Regions from separate parts of the Homo sapiens genome. Here regions 1 and 2 are each linked to region 3. The links are contacts of gene promoters, found by promoter capture Hi-C in blood cells and fetal thymus (Javierre and others, 2016). All regions are on one chromosome and are shown on one strand. The core of a region is centred on a gene start or on the middle of the fragment in contact, and the rest is flanking DNA. Distances in the headings are between cores, read along the strand shown. Region 1 has its middle 68 kb from the start of LINC01986. Region 2 has its middle 90 kb from the start of LINC01986. Region 3 holds the start of CHL1 (cell adhesion molecule L1 like).

Region 1 (2,917 bases), core at 343-2,842, 120 kb before region 3:
TGAAAAGTACAGGGAACAGACACAGAAATCCACCCAGGCTCTGTACTTTAGCATTAGGCTTAGAAGAGTTGTGGTTTTGCTTCATTCCCTGAAATAAAATATTTGGTTGATTGTTTGGTAGAGGAGTGTGGACGCAGGAAACCACAGTGTATACCTGGGAGAGGAATTGGGGTGGATAAACTCTCCTCCATTGAGGGGAAGCCTCTAGCTCTATATTTTGCTTCTAATTGACATAGCAGGGCTTTTTTCTTCCTGCATCACCACTGTCCTTTCTGCGGTTCCAGTATACATGTTGGATATTGGTTTACATTTCTAAACTTATTGAACGCATGACCCTTTATCTTACCCATTATTTACTGTTTAACTGTCAACTTTTACTGCGTATACTCAGGCAATAAGACAGAAAATACATCAAAACCCTTAATATCTTCTTGAAAAGATCTGAAATTACTCTTGAAAATGAAAAATTAGGTCTATTCTGGATCTCTGAAATACAATATTGTGCTCTTATATGTTTCCATCAAAGAAGGAAAGAGACATTTATTTAGTATAAATAGTAATATGGGCTAGACTCTGCACTGAGCATTTTAAAAATAGTATCTTATATAACTCATTCACCAGCTCTCAGAGTTAGTATCAGATACTGTTTATTGTCCACCAAATAGTTATCCTTCTCTTTTTTATTTTTAACAAAATCCATGTGCCTGACTAAAAGCATTTACTCTCTTGCCTCTAGGTGCCCATGGTGGTAGAGTTCTTACCAGCGAGACACAATTAGAAATCTTCCAGGGTGTTTGGGAAAAGCTATTATTGCCTTCCTGATACAACGCCCACATCCTCTAGCTCCCATTGTGTGCATTTACCCTCCCCCATTTATGATATAATTATCCTAGATAGTTTCTCTACATACATCTAGAGCCACATCAGTGTCACAATTTTTCTTTCAGCCTTCAAACATACTTTAGAAAACTCAAAGAGAAGAAGAAAAATCTAATGTATTTATTTGTATTTTTGCTGACCATGCTTTTCTTTCTTTTCTATTTTTCGAATTTCCTTTTTTAAAAAATTTTACTTAGAGAACATCTTTTAGTCACTCTTTTAAAGTAGGTGTGATGATGACAAATTCTCTTAGTTTTTCATCTAATGATGTTTTGATTTCCTCTTCATTCCTGAAGGATGTTTTCACTGGCTGTGGGTTTCTGGGTTGACAAATCTTTTCTTTTTAAGACTAGAAAACTATTTTGTCATTTTTTTCTGGCATCCATGGTTTCTGAGGAGAAATCTGCTGTCCTTCGAATTGTTCTTTTGCCTATGGATAAAAATTCCATTTTTTTTCTGGCAGCTTTCAAGATTTTTTTCTTTTGTCTTCAGTTTTAAGAAGCTTAATTATATTGCAACTTGGCATGGATTTCTCTGGGCCTTTTCTGTTCAGTGTGAAATCAGTTTCTTGGGTGTGTAGGTTGATACCTCTTGCCAAATTTGAAAGTTTTCAGCCCTTATTTGCTTGAGTACTTTTTCAGCTCTTATTTCTCGTTTCCTTCCAGTACTCCAACGACGTGAATATTGGACCTTCTGTTGTAGTCCAACAGGTCCCTGAAACTCTGTTCACTTTTGTTCAGTCTCTTTTCTCTCTGTTGTTTAAACTTGGTAATTTCTACTGTTCCATCTTTCAGGGCCCTGATCTTATCCTCTAGCTCTCCTTTTTGTAGCCACGCCCACCCACTGAGGTTTTTATTCCCATTATACTGTTCTTCAGTTCTAAAATTTCCATTTAGGTCTTCTTTATACCTTTTATTTCTTTACTGAAGCTTTCTGTTTTTCATTTGTTTCACGTACATTCATGATTACTCTCTGAAGCATTTTTTATCTTGGCAGCTTCAAAAATCTTCATCTGATAATTCTAAACATCTCTGGTCATCTTGATATTGGCATTTATTGATTTTCCTTTTTTCATTCAGTTTGGGTCTTCCTGGATTTTGGTATGATGAGTGATTTTTTTATTGAAACGGGGACATTTTCATATTATGTTTTGAGGCTCTAGATCTTATTTAAACCTTCTGCTTTAGCTGGCTTTCCCTGACATAAGTCCAGCATGTCTAGGAAGAGGAGGATACTAACACATTCCTGCCAAGTGGAGGTAGAAGTCTAGCTTTCCCACTTGGTCTCTGTTGACACCCAAGGGGGTAGGGCTCCCCATTACTGCTTGGTGGAATTAAGAGTTCCAGTTCCCCAAATGTTCTCCACTGACACCATGGCGCCGTGAGCTTCATTACTTGCCAGTGGGGAATAAAAGTCCTGGATCCTACTTGGCCTTTTTTGGCAGCACCCCAGTGGAGGTGTTGAAGCACCTGGTTATAGGTGGGGGAGGGAGTCTAGACTTTCCTTGTGGCCTTTACTGTTGGGGATGGGACCACAGTTCTGTGGTATTAGTTGGGGCAGAGTGGTTATTATCTAAATATTTTGTATGTTGACAGGCTGCCCGTTTCCTGGTCCTTTGGCTACAGTGAATAAACTTTTGCTGGGGCCATTTTTGTTTCTAATTGGCATTTTCAGGTTGCCACCTTCTTCAGCTCCAAGACATGAGGCAAAAAAGAGAATCCAGGGAACTCACCGATGTCATTCCTGGAGTCTTAATTATCTAGCCAGTCTGTGCGTTTCTCTTCACATCTCAGAGTTTTCTCATGTTTGCTGTTGTTTTTAGCTGTACTTTATGGGAGGAATTGGCAAAAGCATCTTTACTGTATATTGCCGGGAAGCAGAAATCACTCAAGAATATACGTCTTAAAAAATCAGCCTCCCAGGTGCTTCTCAGGCAAATGTTCATGAACCACACTTTGAGGAACATTTTATAGAATATGAAATTGAGGCCCAGAGAGAAAAACTCAAAGGCAAGATGTCACATACTCAGGTTGCACAG
Region 2 (2,838 bases), core at 121-2,620, 95 kb before region 3:
AGAGAAGATTAGATGGTAGGAGTAGAATGAGTCCTGAAAATTGAGTGATTTCAGGCTGTGTAATACCATGTTGCGGGCTTTACAGAAACACAAATGATGGTTTGCAAAATACAGTGGCTGCCAAAACCAAGTGTCTGAAAGATGACAGATTGTAGCCTGTCCAGTTGTGACCCTGAGATGACAAAGCCAGAGTGGCCACCTGGCCCATTGTTAACTCTTTGATTTACATGTAGCAGGCTTCGGCTCATCTCCTTAGCAATAAAGTCCCAATAATGTGGTCCCTGACCTCACCCTCACACTGACAGGTGCCTTTTCCGCCAGGGCATTCGCCACACACCAGGAAGAAAATTAGTGCTCTGATGCAAGGATTTACCAAATGACCTCTCTGGGGAGTGTAAAGAGTTAATGTCATTTTCCAACCTGCCTAATTTACTCTAAGAGGGTATTAATGTCTTTTGAGCGAATCAGAAGCCACGAGTGCCTGGGGAGACAGGACTGGGGGGCAAAATTAAGGAAAATACATAAATGTTACCCCCCTTTTCCAAAGTATCTCATTATAATACATTTACATATAACTCTTTTCTTAGCCTACAAGTGTTTTGACATTCCAGCAGTCTTTCAAAATGGATCTTTTCCCCCCTCCCCTTTTTCTATTTGCAACTTCTATGGGGTCTAGCAGAGCCAGCACTGAGAACCAGCAAACCAGGCTTTTACTCTTAGTTATGCTGCTATCTTTTGTCCCTGAGCTGGTCACTTCTCAGCCTTTTCAACTCGAAAACAAATGGGTTGAGTTAAATTATTTCTAAGGGTCCTATGCTTTATGATTTAATGGTTTAAATGTTTTCAAAAATCAATGTTTAAAACACTTCTTTGAATTACAACATATTTTAAATGCATGTAGCATCTTTTCTCCTCATTAGGGCACTATCTAAACATAAATTTATGATATCCCCTCATAGAATACTTAAAAGCAAATGAAGCTGGTGGGGTTTCTGGGTCATTTTATCAGCAGCAAACACAGCATAACTGTGTCAACCTTTAACCACAGCCACATTTGACCTCTGAAAAAGGCTTGATGACTGCAGAACTGGCCACCCATGACCTTCTAACTCCATTCACCTTCACCCTGTCCTAATTGGTGATCCCAGTGCTTCTCAGAAATCCTTGGAGCTTAAATACATCCAGGCAGGCAGGTGGGGTCTTTAAAGGATGGCTATCATCACAGTACACAAGGTTTTCTCCTCAAAGCATGAAACTCCACAAGCAGTTCCAATATCGTGAGTGAGATCAGGATCAAAGAACCAAGAGAAGGGCTTCTTCTCTAGGAGAAGATTATTTATTTTGTTATTCCAAAAGTGGGCAATACTTTCTGAAAATTTTGTTCTGTGTCCAAAATTTATATAATCTAGTTTTCTATAGTTGATAATGCAGCTGCGCTTTAACATGCTAGTCATAAGCCAGGTGTGAACACTCAATGTAAATGAATTACGTTCATGTAAAATTAAAAATTGAGTTCCTCAGTTACCCTAGCCACATTTCAAGTACTCAGTAGTCACATGTGACACAAGGCTACCACATTGTCCAGCGAAGATCAGTAACATTCCTGCTGTCACAGAAATGTCTACTGGACAGATCTGGAAGAAAGTGGATAAATGTTCAAACCTTCAGGAGCTATTTGTTGTTTCCCCTTCCATCATTCTTTCAAAATATATTAACTTAAAAGGAGTAGGCCAGAGGCTGAAAAAATCATGCAGAGTGCTTTCAATACATTGTTTAATTTCTCTCTTTGAGGTAAGTGCATTGTATCTTTTTACAGAAAAGAAAACTGAGTCCCAAGATCACATACTTGGTCAGTGCAGAGCTGGGATGTGTAAACAGTCTTTCAGATTCTAAAGTCTGTGTTAATCTTGGATAAAAATTATTTCTGGAATTTTTTTATCTAGAAATTGTAGGAAAACAGTAAGTTTCTGGACTCAATTATCATCACGATCATCATGATTACCATCCTCATCATCATTTGTAAGAAGTGAGTGAGATTTTGTTTTTATATTTTGGAAAGGATTCTACTTTACAACAGGAACCTAGGATTTTAATGGCTAGATCACTTCAAAGCCAGGCTAAGACAGAGAACAGGACAAGGGGAAAGAAAGAAAGAAAACAAAAGAAGTAAGATAAAATAAAGGCAAACATGCATACGTAACTCAAATGTTTGCATTTTACTTGTGCATTTGTAATCACTTTGTTTTGAGGGCTATAGACTTCATTTAGTTCCCTATAGAGCTAGCATCCTTCCAGACCTTGCAGGTAAATATAAGAGTGAGGTACTTGATATGCGGTGTGTTTCTTCTCTGTGAATCAATTCAGCTGAGAAGCAAAGAACTGCACTTCAGACTTCAGGCGTTTTATTCCTTGGCAACCCACTGTAGTGATATTACAAACATTGAACCTGTTAGACTAATGGAAGTAAATGTTGTAAAAGCTGTGAAAGTCACTGGAAAATATTCACTCATTTGTGCAAGGATAATTTACCAAGTACCCACTATGTGTGAGGCACTGTGCTACACACCAGCTCGAAAAAAGGTGACATTAAAATACAACCCCTTCACCTGAGGGGCAAATTATTGGATATGGGCTGTTACATAAGCAACTCTAAAATAGTATAATACAATCAGCAGTGTAGGTAAATGTTTTATATCCAGCTCCTTAGGAAAAAAAAGCAGTATTTGTCTCATTTGCTATCGTCATGGTGTAAATAAATACTCCCACTATGATCAATATCAGGTTACCAACATAATGTCACTAAATGTGGAGTTGGAAAGAGATTGCTTATTGTAAGCA
Region 3 (2,788 bases), core at 68-2,567:
ACCAACTTCGCTTTGTTGTTCTCTTGTGGTTCCTTGACCTTGGAAATGTTTTTCTACAGGCAGAGTATTTCCCCCTGTTGGAATTTTATTTAATATTCTATCTTTGTTTCTACTTTAGAAAACATGCCACGTGAATAATGATGCCTCAGGCAAAAGAAATCACTCCAGCAGTACAATTTAAACTTAGGACAAATCCTGCCCTCACTTGCATTCACAATTTGCCAAGGCAGTTGGTAAGAACTGTGCCCACACACAAATTGACAGAATCGAGGCCCCAAGGTTAGCGATGATTAAAATTTAAAAGTCCATTCATTCATTTTCAAAATATTTTATTCGATTGCTTCTGAGGCAGAATCATGAGTTGCCTTCGCTTTTGCTGCTCCCGGTGGTGGCATCCAACTCTGAGGATAGCTCATCCAACTCTGAGGGTAGCTCTGAGGGGAGCTAAATATCCTCATTGTTCAATGAGCTAGATGAAAACAAAACGAGGCTGTAAGGTCAATCTCACAGCCTTAGTGGAGTAAAAATTAGAAGTCAATAATTCTCTTACCAACAAAGAGGACTTGCATTCAACAGGATTTTCAAAAGTGGTATCCTGTAAAAATTTTGGAAAATACCACCATAATGGAAAAAAAATAAAGTGGCATATAAATCAAATGTAGTGCTAAAAATTATAATTTTTCCATATGAATTTTGGAATCCTAAAATATTTTTATGTGTTTGTGGATTCATAAGGCATCAGAACTGGCTTTTTGCACTGAATATGAGTACAGAAGGCTTTCCTCTCCAATAGTGAATTAATAAAGGATAAGTAGGAAAAACGTTACGAAACGATGTGGTAACATTATAGACTCTGTATTAGGGCAAAAATTGTGAGATAGTAGAAGATCTGTAAATTTAAGCATGCACAATTTGACAGCGGATGGTCGTAGCATATTTTGTAAATTCAATAGCAAGCCCCACCACGCCCTTAAATGAAGGAAAGCAAGAAGACAATTTTTAATACGTACATGGCACCACACCCCTCTAAGACGCAGCAATGGGAGAAAAGCAGATTGGCGACCTGTGTGTGCAACATGAACCGAGTGAAACCATCGGGGAGGGGGTGGGGGGCGTTTCTTTTAAATGTCGCTTTTGCAGATAAACGAGCAGGGATCCTACCTCTTTTGACCGGAGATGTTGAAAAGCACGACCAAAGTTTTTGGCTTGGTCTCTTGCTTTCCACAACGAGATAAAGTCTGAAGCCTGTAACTCTCCCTGTCCCGCGGGAGCGTGCAAAGGGAGGGAAGATAAGCGGCGTGGGTGAGGGGTGGCGGCGCAGAACCCAGGAAGGGAGCAGAGGCGAGAGCCAGCCTCCGGCAGGAGGGCGTAGACCCCGGTGCCAGCCAGAACGGCTCCAGCCTTCCCGCGGCCAGAGAGCCAGCGGCGGGAGGGGACGGGCGGGACCTCCGCGGACAGCCCCGGGTGCGGACCAGCGGGCAGCGGCCGGCGAGACCCTCCCTGGATCCGCCCAGAGCTTACCGGACCCTGCGCGCCCCCGTCCCGGCTCCCGGCCGGCTCGGGGGAGAAGGCGCCCGAGGGGAGGCGCCGGACAGATCGCGTTTCGGAGGCGGCGCAGGTGTGTCAGGGGTGGGGGTCCGCTGGCATCTCTCGTGCCGGCGCTGGGGGGGTCTCCCGTGGAGGAAGGGCTGAAGGTGCTCCGGGAGGGGTCCACTCGTTATGGAAAGGAAGCGGGGCGCGGTCAGGGTCCCTCGTCCGCAGTGGGGGTGGTCCGGGCCCCTCAGCCTGCACCCGGGAGGAGACGCCCCCTTTTCACGCCCCGCCCCCGGTGGCCGAGGCCGGATTCGGACAGCTCGGGGTCAGTCGACGGAGCACACCGGGCGCCCGAATCCGCCGGGTCCCACTCACGCCCGCCGGCCGCCGGTAGGTTGGCCCTCCCGCTTCCAGCCTCCGCCACCCCATCCCTCGCTGCTCTCTGAGGAGGATTCCAGACCCCCCCGTAGATCTCCGCCCTCTCTCGGGTGGGGCTCCGAGGTCTAGCTGGTCTGGGGGTCAGTCCCGGCCTCTGTCTCCCACCGCGCCCCTCGCTCCCCTGGACACCGCCTGGTGTGTGGGGCTCAGACCCCCCCAGTCCACTGCCCCTGTGTGGCTCCTCCTCTCAGGAGAGGATTCTAGATCCCAGCCCGGGGGGGGTTCCGAAAATGCCGCCAGCCTGGAGCGGGGAATCCATGGACCGTGGGGTTGTGGGGTTGGGGAGCACGAAAACCCAGAGAGGGGCTAGAGCTCCACCTCCCCAGACCGCCGAGGGGCGAGAGGGCGCGCCGGGGGCCGTGGTTGCCATGGCTCCTGGTAGCGGAGCCCGGGGGGCTGGAGATGCCGGTCGCGGATGGTCCCTTCTTCCTCTTTGTGCCTCTCTCTTTCTCTCGCTTTTTTTTTTTTTTTGGAGTGTGAGTGTGCGTGGGGAGGCAGCACGGAGAAAGTGATTAATTTGGGGAGCAGGGATTGGAGCCGGGAGGCTGGGGAAAGCCAGCCCCTCCGTTCCCACTCTCCGGGCTCGCTGCGAGCCACAGTGTCTCAGCCAGGGGCAGGGCCGGGGAACTCCTGCGAAAAACCACGGGCCGGAGGAGCAGCAGCCGCGCGGGCCCAGGTACCCCCGCCCCAGACGGCCAGCAGGGTGGAGCGCAGGGTGGGCGTTTGGGCTGCTGGGCGGGAAGGCGGGCGGGGAAGGGGTGGGAGGCCGGCGGCGGAGGGCAGGTGTGCGTCGGCAGGGCTGGGTGGCCCGGCAGAG

Evidence for each region. Contacts are between HindIII fragments. The CHiCAGO score rates a contact against its expected background, and 5 or more counts as called.
Region 1: a fragment that was not itself captured here is called in contact with the fragment with the promoter of CHL1 in region 3 in 2 of 17 cell types (naive B cells and total B cells); the score reaches 9.2 in naive B cells.
Region 2: a contact is called between a fragment that was not itself captured here and the fragment with the promoter of CHL1 in region 3, in 1 of 17 cell types (naive B cells). The highest score is 5.2, in naive B cells.

The regions. Positions count from the first base shown.
Region 1 is chr3:78,719-81,635 of GRCh38, forward strand. No RefSeq gene overlaps it. Among named protein-coding and RNA genes, the nearest start is that of LINC01986, 68 kb to the left of the region's middle. The HindIII fragment of the contact is 427 bases long and covers 1,380-1,806 here.
Region 2 is chr3:100,293-103,130 of GRCh38, forward strand. No RefSeq gene overlaps it. Among named protein-coding and RNA genes, the nearest start is that of LINC01986, 90 kb to the left of the region's middle. The HindIII fragment of the contact is 8,634 bases long and covers 1-2,838 here.
Region 3 is chr3:195,446-198,233 of GRCh38, forward strand. It overlaps CHL1 (cell adhesion molecule L1 like), which reads left to right and starts at 1,318. Exons shown (of 28, transcript NM_006614.4): 1 at 1,318-1,618. It overlaps CHL1-AS2 (CHL1 antisense RNA 2), which reads right to left and starts at 1,896. Exons shown (of 4, transcript NR_144487.1): 1 at 1,522-1,896; 2 at 1,011-1,063; 3 at 551-595; 4 at 313-469. The HindIII fragment of the contact is 3,854 bases long and covers 1-2,788 here.